4 separate regions of the Homo sapiens genome follow, and all the other regions are linked to region 2. Evidence: promoter capture Hi-C in human tissues and cell types (Jung and others, 2019). All regions are on one chromosome and are shown on one strand. The core of a region is centred on a gene start or on the middle of the fragment in contact, and the rest is flanking DNA. Distances in the headings are between cores, read along the strand shown. Region 1 overlaps ZCCHC14-DT (ZCCHC14 divergent transcript). Region 2 holds the start of JPH3 (junctophilin 3). Region 3 overlaps KLHDC4 (kelch domain containing 4). Region 4 has its middle 41 kb from the start of ZCCHC14-DT.

Region 1 (3,132 bases), core at 412-2,911, 88 kb before region 2:
GCATTGGCATTAAAGGCATGAGCCACCACACCCGGCCAAGATACATAACTTAATCACATCTGCAAAGTCCCTTTTACCACATGAGGTCACATCCACAGGATCTGGGGATTAGGACGTGGGCATCTTTTTGGGGGCCGTGATTCACTCTGCCACAGTGGGTACACAGCAAGCCAATGATGGGGGTAATTAAGTTAGCATTAAATATCCCACGTGTTCTATGTTCTAGAGCAGTGATCATGCCCCTGGGGTGTGAGGTGATCCACTGAGGACCAGGAAGAAGAGATGAGATTATTGCTTAAGATTAAGCAAGAAATCAGGTTTTATGAATATTGACTCTGAGCTGACACTGGCTCTCTGTACCCATGACAGTCTAGTCAGAAAAACAGAAAACGCACTGGTTAGTTTAGCAGAGAGAATTTAATATTGGGCATTGGTGGAATGAGGAATGGAGGACTAAAGAGGCAGAAGGGGGACCTGAGGTCACAGGCAGGGACACCCCTCAGGCTTGGTGGCACTGCGGTGGTGGCTTCTCAGCTGTCACCCAAGGGAACCTTGCAGGATGAATGGGAGTTTCACGGTGAAGTCCCATCTGACAGTTTGTTAGCTCTTTTTTTTTTTTTAAGTGAGACAGGGTCTTGGTCTGTCAATCCAGGCTGGAGTGCGGTGGTGCGATCTCAGCTCACTGCGACCTCTGCATCCTGGGCTCAAACAATCCTCCTGCCTCAGCCTCCCAAGTAGCTGGGACCAGAGGCATGCGCCAACACACCTGGCTAATTTTTATATTTTTTGTAGAGATGGGGCCTCACTGTGTGGCCCAGGCTGGTCTTGAACTCCTGGGCTCCAGCAATCTGCCCACCTTGGCCTCCTAAAGTGCTGGGATTACAGGCGTGAGCCACCACACCTGTCTGTTACATCTTAAAATATGGCAACATACGTTGGTGAAGTATTGGCTTACCAGAGTGGATCTGTAGCTGCTGGTACCTATCTTGTCTGGTTCTAACTAAATTCGGTGTATGCCTTAAAAAGATTCATACAAAGGAACTGTGGAATGAAGGAAACACTAACAAGCCAAGCAGAGTAAAGAGTGAGAACGCATCAGAGCAGCTGTCTTATTCCTGGCCTGTGCTCTTGGTCAGACATATCCCAAGGTAAAAACAAAGGCAGCCAGCCAGTCAGCCCGCAGAGGACAGTCACACGAACCCTAATTATCCAGAAGTCTAGTCGAAGTACAGATTAGAAAATCCATCATTGTTGACAATAATCCTCACCCCAAATGCATATTTTGCCTTGAGATGTAATGGAAACCATCATAATTAGCAAGACATTAAAAAGAATATTGTTTGTTTAATCTTTTACTTGGCATTTAGAAATTTCCATTTTGGCTGGGCGTGGTGGCTCACGCCTGTAATCCCAGCACTTTGGGATGCCGAGGCGGGTGGATCACCTGAGGTCAGGAGTTCAAGACCAGCCTGGCCAACATGGTTAAACCCCGTCTCTACTAAAAATACAAAAATTGGCCAGGTATGGTGGTGTGCACCTGTAATCCCAGCTACTCAGGGGGCTAAGGCAGGAGAATCTTGAATCTGGGAGGTGCAGGTTGCAGTGAGCCAAGATCACACCACTGTACTCCAGCCTGGGCAACACAGCAAGACTCCATCTCAAAAAAAAAGTCCATTTTGTTAGGAGTTTTATGATTATACATAAAATATGAGAGCAGCAATGCATATATATAATTCTTAAGTTTTAAGATACACGTATATGGTGGGCACCTGCGGGAAAGGTTTTGCCCATTAGGATCTATGATCTAAACACTTTGGAGACTCCTGCCCTGAAGAATTCATGTCTATGAGCTATCCAAAAACCCAGACCAGGCCGGGCGTGGTGACTCATGCCTGTAATCCCAGCACTTTGGGAGGCCAAGGCAGGCAGATCACTTGAGGTCAGGAGTTCAGGACCAGCCTGGCCAACATGGTGAAACCGCATCTCTACTAAAAATACAAAAATTAGCCAGGTGTGGCAGTGTGCGCCTGTAATGCCAGCTACTCGGGAGACTGAGGCAGGAGAATCGCTTGAACCCGGGAGGCAGAGGTTGCAGTGAGCTGAGATCATGCCATTGCACTCCAACCTGCACAACGAGAGCAAAACTCCGTCTCAAAAAATAAAAAAAAAAAGCTCAGATTAAACAATGATTATAGATGTTTTATGAAATCAATCAAGAAAGTTCATAAAGAGGATGACCACAATTTTTTTTCTGTCTGCAAGATCCGTATTTGTTGTTCTGTGCCACATTAATGATTACATAACAATTATATAATGTATATATCCAGGCCTTGATAATTGCCATTGTCTACAAGATGCTCTAGAAGTCCAAAGGGAAAATGAGCCTGAGAAAGTCCAATAGGGCTTCACAGAAAAGGTGGCATTTAAACTAGGCCTTGCTTGGAGCTGGAGAGTTCCACATGGCTAGGGAGGCCTCACAGTCGTGGTGGAAGGTGACAGGCAGGTCTTAATTAATGAAGCTTTAAATGTTTTTTCATTGGGGCCAGGCATGGCAGCTCACACCTACAATCTCAGCACTTCAGGATTACTTTTTTTTTTTTTTTTTTTTTTTTAAGCAGAGGGTCTGTAACTTTCACCAGATTCTTAAGGAGTCTGTGACCTGGGAGAGTTTTAAGAGTGGGAAAGCTGTAAGGCCACGCTCAGGCTGGATTCCAGCCGTGGGACCCCTCGCTTCACTTCTCTGAGCCTCAACTTCCTCATCTGTGCAATGGGGCAGCCTCGTGGACATGCAGGATTGCAGTTCTGGACATGCAGAGCCTGGCATCCAGAGGAGCCCAGCGCCCGCCAACTGCAGCACCCAGCACCAGCAACCCCAGGGTTGGGGGCTGACTCCATTCTTCTCCCCAGGGCTACACCAGCTCTAGCTTCCTGGCCGCCAGTTTCCCCAGCAACTTCATTTTGTTTATTTGCAATGGCTTATTGGGGTCTCCTGGAGAAAAGATTCTCAGCTGAGTTCCAGAAAATGAACACGCTCTCCCCGTGCTCGGAGAGCTCCCAGCTGTTCTCTTGGCTGGCCGGCTCAGAAGAAATGATGTTAGGAATGTTTATCTCGGAGGAAGCGGAAGAGCTCCT
Region 2 (3,275 bases), core at 274-2,773:
CAGGCACACTGAAGGGTGAGAGGTCAGTTGCTCCAGGTGTTTGGAAAGCAATTTGGCAGCTTCCAATAAAGTCCAAGACGTAGCTGGTCCAATGATGCCACCGCAGACATTTAGAGAACTTCTGTAGAGGGGCACAGGGAGACAGCGCTAGAAAGCTCAATGAATCACTGTAACTGCACAAAACAAAACAAAGCCGACCGCCCTAAATGTTCCTCATTGACAGTGGGTGTATGAGGAGGTGACTGTCCTCCTGGCTGCTGGTACTCTGGGGAGGGAGCTTTGGTGCCCAAGGCAAGAGACTGAGGTTGAACTCTGGGACTCCCAGGAGGGGCTGATTTTTCTGAGAGCCCCGTGAGCCAAGAGTGGGGACCATCCTGATTCTCTCGGACAGGGGAAGATCTGAGCAGGGCTCCTGGCTGATTGGAGGCTCCGAATCGCACCTCTTCTCCTGTCCTAATCTCAGGCTCCAGGCCTGGCTTGCAGTTTCTGGCTCACCGCGCTGCGGTCACCGGCCCACACTCCCAGGAGCGAGGACCCTGGGCAGCCTCCACACCCCCATCAGCCCACTGCACCGGTCTGCTGCCATTTCCCGCACGCATTTCAGGAGGGCTGGGGACGCCGGCTTCTGCCTGAGGATTTATGGTCCAGGAAATGCATTTTAAATGGATCCCAGGATGCTCGGATCCAAGAATCAGACTCTCTCTTGTGCGTGGGAAGAGGGGCGGAGGGTGAGAGTATGTCTGGAGAGAGACCTAGAAACGCCCGAATGGCGGTCCCACTTTGCTCCCCAAAAGCGCGACCGTTCCCCGAGTGGGGGGGCGCTACCTGTTGGCCAGGGCGCAGGGCGCACGGAATTCGGGTGACTTTGCTCCAAGATACACGCGTGTGTCCCGACTCTCACTCAATTTATAGGGGAGAGGGACTCGCCAAATCCCTGTTTTCTGGGGTAAGCCCCCCTCCCCCCACTCTTGGACCCAAGCTGCCCGGAAGGAAGAAGGAAGCATTGTTTGTCACCGGAGAAAACCACCTGTGGTTTGCAAAGGGCCTCAGTCGAGTCAGGGGCAGGCGGGGCAGATCCGAGCCCGGCGGGAGGGGCGAGGCGCGGGGGCGGGCAGGGGCGAGGGTAGGGGCGCTCAGCTGGCAGGTCCTGCTCTGCAGGCCTCACCGCCCAGCTCCCGGGAGGGGGCCGAGGGCGCCCTGAGTGCTGCGCGCCTTCCCATGACGCAGTTCCTGTGCCTTTAAATCCCACTCCCGGAGGGGGCGGGGGCGCCCCGGCTGGACCCCGGTTTCCAGTCCGGCGGGGGCCCCGGGGAAGCCCAGGGCGGGGAGCGCGGGGCTGGGGGCGCGGAGGGCGGGGCGCCCGGGGTCCCCGCCCGCGCGCCGCGCCCTAGCCTGCTGGGCCGCGCCCCTCTTGGGACCGCCGCGCTCCGGGGGCGGGGGCGGGGGCGGGGGCGGGGGGCGGGGGGCGGGGGGCGGGCGGGGGCGCGCGGGCGGGCGGGGTGCGGGCGCGCGCCGCGCGGCCCGAGCGCGCGAGCCGGGCCCGGAGCGCACGCCGCCGCCGCCACCGCCGCCGCCGCCGCCCGAGCCGCCGCATTGCTGCTGCTGCTGCCGCCGCCGCCCCGCGCCCGGCCCGCGGCCCCCAATATGGTGCAGCCGCCAGCGCCGCCGCCCGTGCCGCCGCCGCCGCCCGCGGGCCCCGCCGCCGCCCTCGGGCGCCCGCAGCGCGGCAGCCGCAGGTGGGGGGCCGCGGCCCGGGCCTGAGCTGCCCCCCGCCCGGCCTCGGCGCGGCGCCCTCCCCGCGGGGCTGCCGGCGAGGGGCCCTCTCGCCGCTGAGGTGGAGCCGCGGGCCCCGCCGCCGCCGCTCCTGCCCCCTCCCTCCCTCCTCCCCTCCCCCTCCCCTCCGGTCCTGTCTCCAGCGGGAGCGCGAGACGCTGGTCAGGCTCCGCGGCGCAGCTCGAAAAGGAATAATCGCCCCCGATTGACTGAAATTCCTCCGGAGCCGGCGCCGCGGCCGCCCGCGCCCGAGACCGCGCTCCGGGGCCGCGTCCTCCTCTCCTCCGGAAAACGCTCGCGACCCAGGGCCGCCGGCGGCCGCGACTCTGCTGTGTCGATCGCCTGAGTCCGTTTTCACCGTTTGCGGGATCTGGAACCGAGTTACATGCATGTCCAGTGGGGGCAGGTTTAATTTTGACGACGGAGGGTCCTACTGTGGAGGCTGGGAGGACGGCAAGGCGCACGGCCATGGCGTCTGCACCGGCCCCAAGGGCCAAGGCGAATACACCGGCTCGTGGAGCCACGGCTTCGAGGTGCTGGGCGTCTACACCTGGCCCAGCGGCAACACGTACCAGGGCACCTGGGCGCAGGGCAAGCGCCACGGCATCGGCCTGGAGAGCAAGGGGAAGTGGGTGTACAAGGGCGAGTGGACGCACGGATTCAAGGGGCGCTACGGGGTGCGGGAGTGCGCGGGCAACGGGGCCAAATACGAAGGGACCTGGAGCAACGGGCTGCAGGACGGCTACGGGACCGAGACCTACTCGGACGGAGGTAGGTGCCGCGGGCCGGGCCGGGCCGGGGCGGGAGGGACGTGCTTCCGATCGCGCCCCTTCTGTGGATCTCTGGGGAAGTTGAGCTGCGTCCTCCGGTTGGGCCGTGGGCACCAGGGGCCTTTCCCGGGCTTCCCTGGAAGCCACGGCGGCTCCTGGCTACAGGTTGCCCCGCTGCCTGGTGGGGACAGTGCCCCTGTGCCAGCTGAAGGGTGTTGGGGGCTTTCCAGGGGCAGAGCCAGGCGGGGCCCAGCAGAGCCTCCGTGCGTCGGACACAGCAGGCCGGAGACCTGCGGGAAGGGCCAGGCTGGGCCCGCGGCCCTGGGGAACCCAGCAAGGGCAGAGGGGGCTGGGAGAAGGGCCCCTCCCCTTGTTGGCTTTGCCCCCCACCCTGGAGGCCGCCCTTCGATCAGGCCCCAGCTTCGCTTCTGGTGTTCCTGCGGCGCCCGAGGGCCTTCCTCAGCCCCGAATCTGCCCAAGCCGAGAGAAAGGGAGTGATGGGGAGCGCTAGGGGCGGGGGATGCCAACCCGAACCAAAACAGCCAGGCAGTACACTTCTAGGTGGTTGGACGCGGACTAGCGCTGTCGAAGCAGGCTGCTGGAGGGAGGAGGGAGGCCCATCTGCTCAGTGAGAGCCCAGGAATCTCGTCTTTCAGTGGCTGCATCGTTTTCACCATTAGTTGAGGGAATCGATCTGTGCCTTCATTCTAAGATGCCACCGCATTCGGGGCA
Region 3 (3,310 bases), core at 709-3,208, 120 kb after region 2:
TCTGGGTGACTTGTTTAGCAGAAGCTCCAGGACAGGCAGATCTATTACGGTGGGAAAATCAGAGCAGCGTCACCTCTGGGCGGAGGGGAGGGTGGGCAGCGGGGCCGAGTGGGAAGGGCACGGCAGGATCAGGGTGTGAGTCACACGGTGCCCGCACTTGTAAAAATGTGTCCCCTCACTGTGGGTCAATGACGCATAGGAAATTACCACCGACTACAGGCGCCCGCCACCACGCCCGGCTAATTTTTTGTATTTTTAGTAGAGACGGGGTTTCACAGTGTTAGCCAGGATGGTCTCGATCTCTTGACCTCGTGAGCCGCCCGCCTCGGCCTCCCAAAGTGCTGGGATTACAGGCGTGAGCCACCGCGCCCAGCCTAAGCATAGCAAAATCTTAATAGCAGGATCTAGGAGGAGTATACAGGTGTTCCCCGTAAAATTCTTTCAAAAGTTAGCTGTGGTTGAAAATTTTCAAAATACAAAGGATTTTTTAAACCCCTACAGTGAGATACTACTTCATACCTCTCAGATTCACAGAAATGTAAAGGTTGGCAGAGTGTGAAATGGGAGTGAAGCAACAGGAACACTTGAGTTCCGAGGACAGAGCCTGTGCCAGCCGCCTCTGTGAAGCACACGCCCCACGAGCAGCAGGCACATGTGAGGAGCACACACTCCACGAGCAGATGCCAGTACACGTGCAGAGCACACGCCCCAAGAGCAGGAGGCTCCGGGGTGGGCGCGAGAACATTCCTGTCAGCACTGTTCTCAGGTTACCAAAGAAACAAGCCCGTTAACAGGAGCGAGGAGAATTTCATTCCACAGAGACTACTACACAGTAGTGAGCGTCCATGGTGCAGGAAGGAGACCCTCAGAACACAGAATCGCTCACACTGCACTGCTGACAGGGGTGTGGAGAACAGAACAGGGCCCTAACACGGCACCAAGTTCACAGAGGAGCCGATTAACACTATCTCTATTTCTAATTCTATACAAAGAACTGTTTATATTCAACCAATGAGTAATCCCATGTGAAAGCTTCAATGTTCATGAAACTGAAGAGACCACAGACAGCAGCGCCTATTTTCCCACGCCGCAACTCACCCGTCTCCCCACCCCGCGCCTCGCCCGTCTCCCCACGCCGCGCCTCGCCCGTCTCCCCACGCCGCGCCTCGGCCCGTCTCCCCACGCCGCGCCTCGCCCGTCTCCCCACGCCGCGCCTCGCCCGTCTCCCCACGCCGCGCCTCGCCCGTCTCCCCACGCCGCGCCTCGCCCGTCTCCCCACGCCGCGCCTCGCCCGTCTCCCCACGCCGCGCCTCGCCCGTCTCCCCACGCCGCGCCTCGCCCGTCTCCCCACGCCGCGCCTCGCCCGTCTCCCCACGCCGCGCCTCGCCCGTCTCCCCACCCCGCGCCTCGCCCGTCTCCCCACGCCGCGCCTCGCCCGTCTCCCCACGCCGCGCCTCGCCCGTCTCCCCACGCCGCGCCTCGCCCGTCTCCCCACGCCGCGCCTCGCCCGTCTCCCCACGCCGCGCCTCGCCCGTCTCCCCACGCCGCGCCTCGCCCGTCTCCCCACGCCGCGCCTCGCCCGTCTCCCCACCCCGCGCCTCGCCCGTCTCCCCACCCCGCGCCTCGCCTGTTTCCCGGTCCCACGCCTTGCCTGTTTCCCCACCCCCCGCCTTACCTGTTTCGAGTAGCCCCCATAGACGACGATGCCGCCCTGGGGAGTGACGGACATCTGGCAGCCTGATCTGGGTGTGGGCCCCGTCCCTGACGGGGACAGCTTGCTCCATGTGAAGGTGTCCAGATTAAAGGCATACACGTCGTTGTAGTAGATGTAATCCCTGGTTAGAAGAACAGCAGCTGTCAGGGTCCGTAACATTGGGAAAAGCCCTGACATTAAAAACTGAACTGATTTAAATTAAAGGTAAATTTCCTACTGTTTGGGGAAAAACTCAAACCATTTTTCTCCTCTGCTCTTACACCAACACAACAATCAACACAGAAACGTGGCCGCTTTCCCTGCAACGAGCCAGAGACGCCAGTCAGGTCTCCTCAAACTCAATCTTGACGCAATCTACCTGGAGACAGGGCAACATTTTCACCTGTTTAATTCAAGTTTGAATTGATATGAAAGGACCACAAGCACGTATGAGTTTGCATTTGAAAACCGGAAATAATGCTGGCCCACAGAGGCAGAGGAATTTAATCTGAAAGCCATACTGCGTTTTCTTACACAGTTAACACAATCAGAGACAATTCCATTAGGTTATTAGGTGTGCAACCGTAAGGGCAGCAGTGAATGGCGCCTCCAAAGGGATGATCAGAACGGAGGTGTGAGCAGCCTGGCAGCAAGGGTGGTAAGGCCCCACAGTGGACTGGAGGGGTGAGCGAGGGGACTGGGCGCTCCAGGGAAACTGAAGACCACAGAAGCCGACCCTCTGTGCCCGAAATCACAGCGCGGCAAGGAGGCCCCGCAGCCTTGCCCTGCTCAGTGCCTGCCGGACCCAGCACGCAGACTGGGCTGAACAGGGAAGTGGCAGCTTTGCTGGAGGCATGGGGAGACTCGGAGGCGCACCCAGAAAGTCCTGTCCTAATGTGGAACTTTGACACAATTATCGTGAAAGCGTAAGGGGCTGCTCTCCAGCTACTCAAAAAGGAGAGCCAAACTCATTTTTTAAGGAAAGCATGGAAGAGCAAGCAGCTCTAGCCCAAGTCTCAAGTGCCCGGTTTTCTCCTGTTTGTTCCTGTTTTGTGTGAAGCAGGAAAAGTCACAGGGCGTTTACCCAGCACCAGCTGCCACATCTGGTCTTAAGATAAACAGCCTGGGCACAGTGGCTCACACCTGCAATCCCAGCACTTTGGGAGTCTCAGGCAGGTAGATCACTTGAGGCGAGGAGTTCAAAAACAGCCTGGACAATATGGTGAAACCTTGTCTCTACTAAAAACACAAAAAATTAGCCAAGCATGGGGGCGGGTGCCTATAATCCCAGCTACTCAGGAGGCTGAGGCACGAGAATAGTTTGAACCTACGAGGTGGAGGCTACAGTGAGCTGATCACGCCACTGCACTCCAGCCTGGGCGATCGAGTGAGAATCTGTCTCAAAAAAAGAAGAAAGAAAAGATAACCTGACCTTGCTGACTGCAACTCAGACTGACCACATCCTTCGCAGGACGATGGCTCTTAATATAGATAGAATCTGAGGAATGTGGAAATGTGGAAGCGTGTAATCTTTAAAAGACTGCTACAGACCACTGTTTTTTTCAGATTTCACGTCGCAGATTTTTAGTACAAAGATTCTACTTTGCACGTAAGATA
Region 4 (3,440 bases), core at 815-3,314, 67 kb before region 2:
ATGGCAGCGTAGGGGTTCCCCACACCAACAAATCTTCCAACTTTCTGAAATAGTTGGGTGTCTTACAGTTCAACTCAGTTCCAACACTACCTGGAGTTAGCATCAGATCCCATGATTTAGGGACTCAGTCCCACAGGACGGCCTCCACTTCAGATGCCAACTGAGAGTCTGGGCCTCCCTCCAGACTGATCAGCTATGATTTATAGCTGATTTAGGGGTTCCCATGACCCCCTCCTCAGATTCAATAATTGGCAAAACTGGGCACAGTGGCTCATGCCTGTAATTCCAGCACTTTGAGAGGCTGAAACAGGCAGATCACATGAGGTCAGGAGTTTAAGATCAGCCTGGCCAACATGGTGAAACCCCATCTCTACTAAAAATACAAAAATTAGCCAGGCATGGTGGTGCATGCCTGTTGTGCCAGCTACTCAGGAGACTGAGGCAGGAGAATTGCTTGAACCTGGGAGGCAGAGGCTGCAGTGAGCCAAGATGGAGCCACTGCACTCCAGCCTGGGTGACAGAGCAAGACTTTGCCTCAAACAAACAAACAAAAAGTTGGCAAGAATGACTTACAGAACTCAGGGAAACACTTTGCTTATTTTTACTGGTTTATTACAAAGGATATGACTCAGGAACAGCCAAGTCATGGACAGGGTGGGATGGACGGGGTGGAATAGACGGGGTAAGTAGGGGAGGCGCAGGAGGGGTGCAGAGCTTCCATGCCCTCTCCAGGTGCACTGCCCTCCCTGCACCTTGATGTGTTCACTAACCCCACCCAGAAGCTCTTTGAAACCCCCTTCCAGTCATTGACAGGTGTTTTGGAGACCTCATTAGACAGGTATGATTGATGACATCATCAGCCATTGAGGATTAAGTCGATCTCCAGCCCCTCTCCCCTCCCTGGAGGTTGGGGTTGGGGAGCAGGGGGACTGAAGTTCTAACCCTCCTCTGGCAACCAGCCCCCATCCTCCAAGAGTCACCTCATTAGCGTAAACTCAGATGTAGTTACTAATAATGGTTTGGATATTTGTCCCCTCCAAATCTCATATTGAACTTTGACCCCAGTGTTGGGACTGGAGCCTGGTTGGGGGGTGTTTGGGTCATGGGGGTGGATGCCTCATGAATGTCTTGGTGCCGTCCATGCAGTAATGAGTGAGTTCTCGAGAGCTCTCGCTCTAGCAGTTCCTGAGAGAACTGATAGTTTAAAAAGCCTGGCAGCTTCCCCCGCTTGCCTCTCTCCTCTCCACATGACACCTGCTCCTTTTCACCTTCTGCCCTGAGTGGATGCTTCCCGAGGTCCTCACCAGATGCAGATGCTGGTGCCCTGCTTCCCATACAGCCTGCAGAACTGTGAGCCAAATAAACCTCTTTTCTATATAAATTATCCAGCCTCAAGTATTCCTTTACGGCAACACAAACGGACGAAGAGAGTTGTCATTATGAATAACCGAAGATGATCTTCCCACCCTTATTGCTCAGGGAATTCTGAGGATTTTAGGAGCTCTGTGTCCGGAACCAGGATGGAGACCAAATATATATTTCTTATTATATCACAATATCACAAAGCCCTTTGCAGATTTGCTAAGTCACATTACAAAGGAACCTGTATACAGGCCACCTTACTTCAGCTCCAAACCGAGAATCACTTTCCCCCCAACCACATCATCCCCCTAGTCATCTGCCCTCCAAATCTGCATTTTTCCCCTATCATTGTTGCAACAAATTACCACAAACTAGTGGCTTAAAACAGGACACATTTATTATCTTAAAGTTCAGGAGTTCTGAAGTCTGAAACGGGCCTGCTCCTTCTGGACACTCCAGGGGAGAATCTGTCTGCTTGCCTTCTGCAGTTCCTAGAGGCTGCCTGCATTCCTTGGCTCATGGCCCCTCCTCTGTCTTCCAAGCCAGCAGGATGGCATCTTCTCTCCTTGCTGACTTCTGCCTCCCTGTCACCAGGATCCCTGTGATGACATTGGGGCCACCAGGATAATCCCAGATAACCAGCCCCCCGAGCTCAAGATTTGTAAACCACATCTGCAAAGTTTCTTCGGCCAAGTAAGGTAAATTACTTGGTAATTTTCTTGGCAAGGTAGATATCCACAAGTTCTGGGGGTTAAGATATGGACATCTTTGGGGGTCACTATTCTGTCTACCATAGACTCTCACACCCTTTCCTTCCAACCCAGGCGTTTCCAGACTTCTTCAAACACATTCCTCTAGGAGTTTTTGTTTGCTAGTTTTAAAGGAGCATGCCCCAAATACATGATTAAAAGCCTGGACCGGCAGCCAAACTACCTCAATTCAAATCCCAGCTCTCCTGCCTTCTCATTGTTCTACCTCGGCCAATCTGCTTCACCTCTCTGCACCTCTGTTTCCTCATCTGCACGATGCAGGATGTCTCAGCTCCTGCTGCCATAACACAGATGCCATAGACTGAGTGGTTTAGACTTCACAGTTCCAGAGACGGAAGTCCAAGATCAGGGAGCCAACAGGGTCAGGTTCTGATGAAGCTTTCTTCTGCCTTGTAGTTGGCCACCTTTTCCTAGGTCCTTACGTGGCATAGAGGGAGGGAGGGAGAGAGAGAGAGAGAGAATGTGCTCTGATGTCCCTCTGATGAGAATGTTACCGGTGGAAAGTGTCCAGGTTCTTGGCATCTTGAACAAATAAATGGACAAAATGTGCAAACAAATCAAGAAAGGAATGAAGCAACAAGAGCAAAGATTTATTGAAAATGAAAGTACACTCCACAGGGTGAAAGTAAGCCCCGGCATAGGGGCTCAAGGGCCCCAGATACTGTATCTTCTCGGGTCCAAATACCCCCTAGAGGTTTCCCAGTGGCCACTTGGTGTTCACCCCATGTAAATGAAGTGGCGGCCTGCAATCGGTCTGATTGGTCAAGTGAAGTTACAAAGCTCACACTCCTATGCAAACATCTGATTGGTTGTGGAAAGCACACAATCAGAGGCTGAAGTGAAGTTACAAAGTTACATTCCAATACAAACGTCTGATTGGTTGCAAAAAGCGATCAATCAGAGGTACTTTCAATTTCCCATCTGCCTGGCAGAAAAGGTAGGGGTTTGCAAAGGGGTAGCCTCTGGTCCTTTTGTTATTTAGATGTGGAAAGTTAGGGCTCTCCTTTCAATTTAGTTCTAGGAAATCAGCGTGAAAGAGCCTTAGGTTCCCTGCCTCCAGACGCTATTCTCCTGCCTCAAGGATACCGATATGGCTTGGCTCCGTGTCCTCACCCAAATCTCATCTTGAATTTAATCCCCAAGTGTTGAGGGAGGGACTGGGTGGGACGTGATTGGATCATGTGGGTGGTTTCCCGCGTGTTGTTCTTGTGACAGTGGGAGTTCTCACGAGATCTGGTGGTTTTATAAGGCAGTTTTCCCTGCTCTCTCTTGCTCTTCTCTCTCCTACCGCCTTGTGAAGAAGATCCT

What was found. The method cuts DNA at HindIII sites, captures the fragments that hold promoters and counts their contacts. A contact is called where the count stands out against the background at its distance.
Region 1: a contact is called between a fragment that was not itself captured here and the fragment with the promoter of JPH3 in region 2, in 2 of the 25 tissues and cell types used here (H1 embryonic stem cells and bladder).
Region 3: a fragment that was not itself captured here is called in contact with the fragment with the promoter of JPH3 in region 2 in 4 of the 25 tissues and cell types used here (H1 embryonic stem cells, IMR-90 fibroblasts, mesenchymal stem cells and 1 more).
Region 4: a fragment that was not itself captured here is called in contact with the fragment with the promoter of JPH3 in region 2 in 4 of the 25 tissues and cell types used here (IMR-90 fibroblasts, lymphoblastoid cells, mesendoderm cells and 1 more).

Annotation. Positions count from the first base shown.
Region 1 is chr16:87,512,901-87,516,032 of GRCh38, forward strand. ZCCHC14-DT (ZCCHC14 divergent transcript) reads left to right here. Exons shown (of 4, transcript NR_110943.1): 4 at 2,616-2,730. Among named protein-coding and RNA genes, the nearest start is that of ZCCHC14-DT, 20 kb to the left of the region's middle. The HindIII fragment of the contact is 8,088 bases long and covers 1-3,132 here.
Region 2 is chr16:87,600,985-87,604,259 of GRCh38, forward strand. It overlaps JPH3 (junctophilin 3), which reads left to right and starts at 1,524. Exons shown (of 5, transcript NM_020655.4): 1 at 1,524-2,544. The coding sequence starts at 2,163. It overlaps LOC124903750 (a long non-coding RNA gene), which reads right to left and starts at 1,199. Exons shown (of 2, transcript XR_007065172.1): 1 at 1,028-1,199; 2 at 1-121. RefSeq lists an enhancer at 63-625. The HindIII fragment of the contact is 15,663 bases long and covers 1-3,275 here.
Region 3 is chr16:87,725,090-87,728,399 of GRCh38, forward strand. It overlaps KLHDC4 (kelch domain containing 4), which reads right to left. Exons shown (of 12, transcript NM_017566.4): 7 at 1,676-1,835. Among named protein-coding and RNA genes, the nearest start is that of KLHDC4, 39 kb to the right of the region's middle. RefSeq lists enhancers at 1-605, 238-327. The HindIII fragment of the contact is 6,423 bases long and covers 1-3,310 here.
Region 4 is chr16:87,533,607-87,537,046 of GRCh38, forward strand. No RefSeq gene overlaps it. Among named protein-coding and RNA genes, the nearest start is that of ZCCHC14-DT, 41 kb to the left of the region's middle. The HindIII fragment of the contact is 4,449 bases long and covers 1-3,440 here.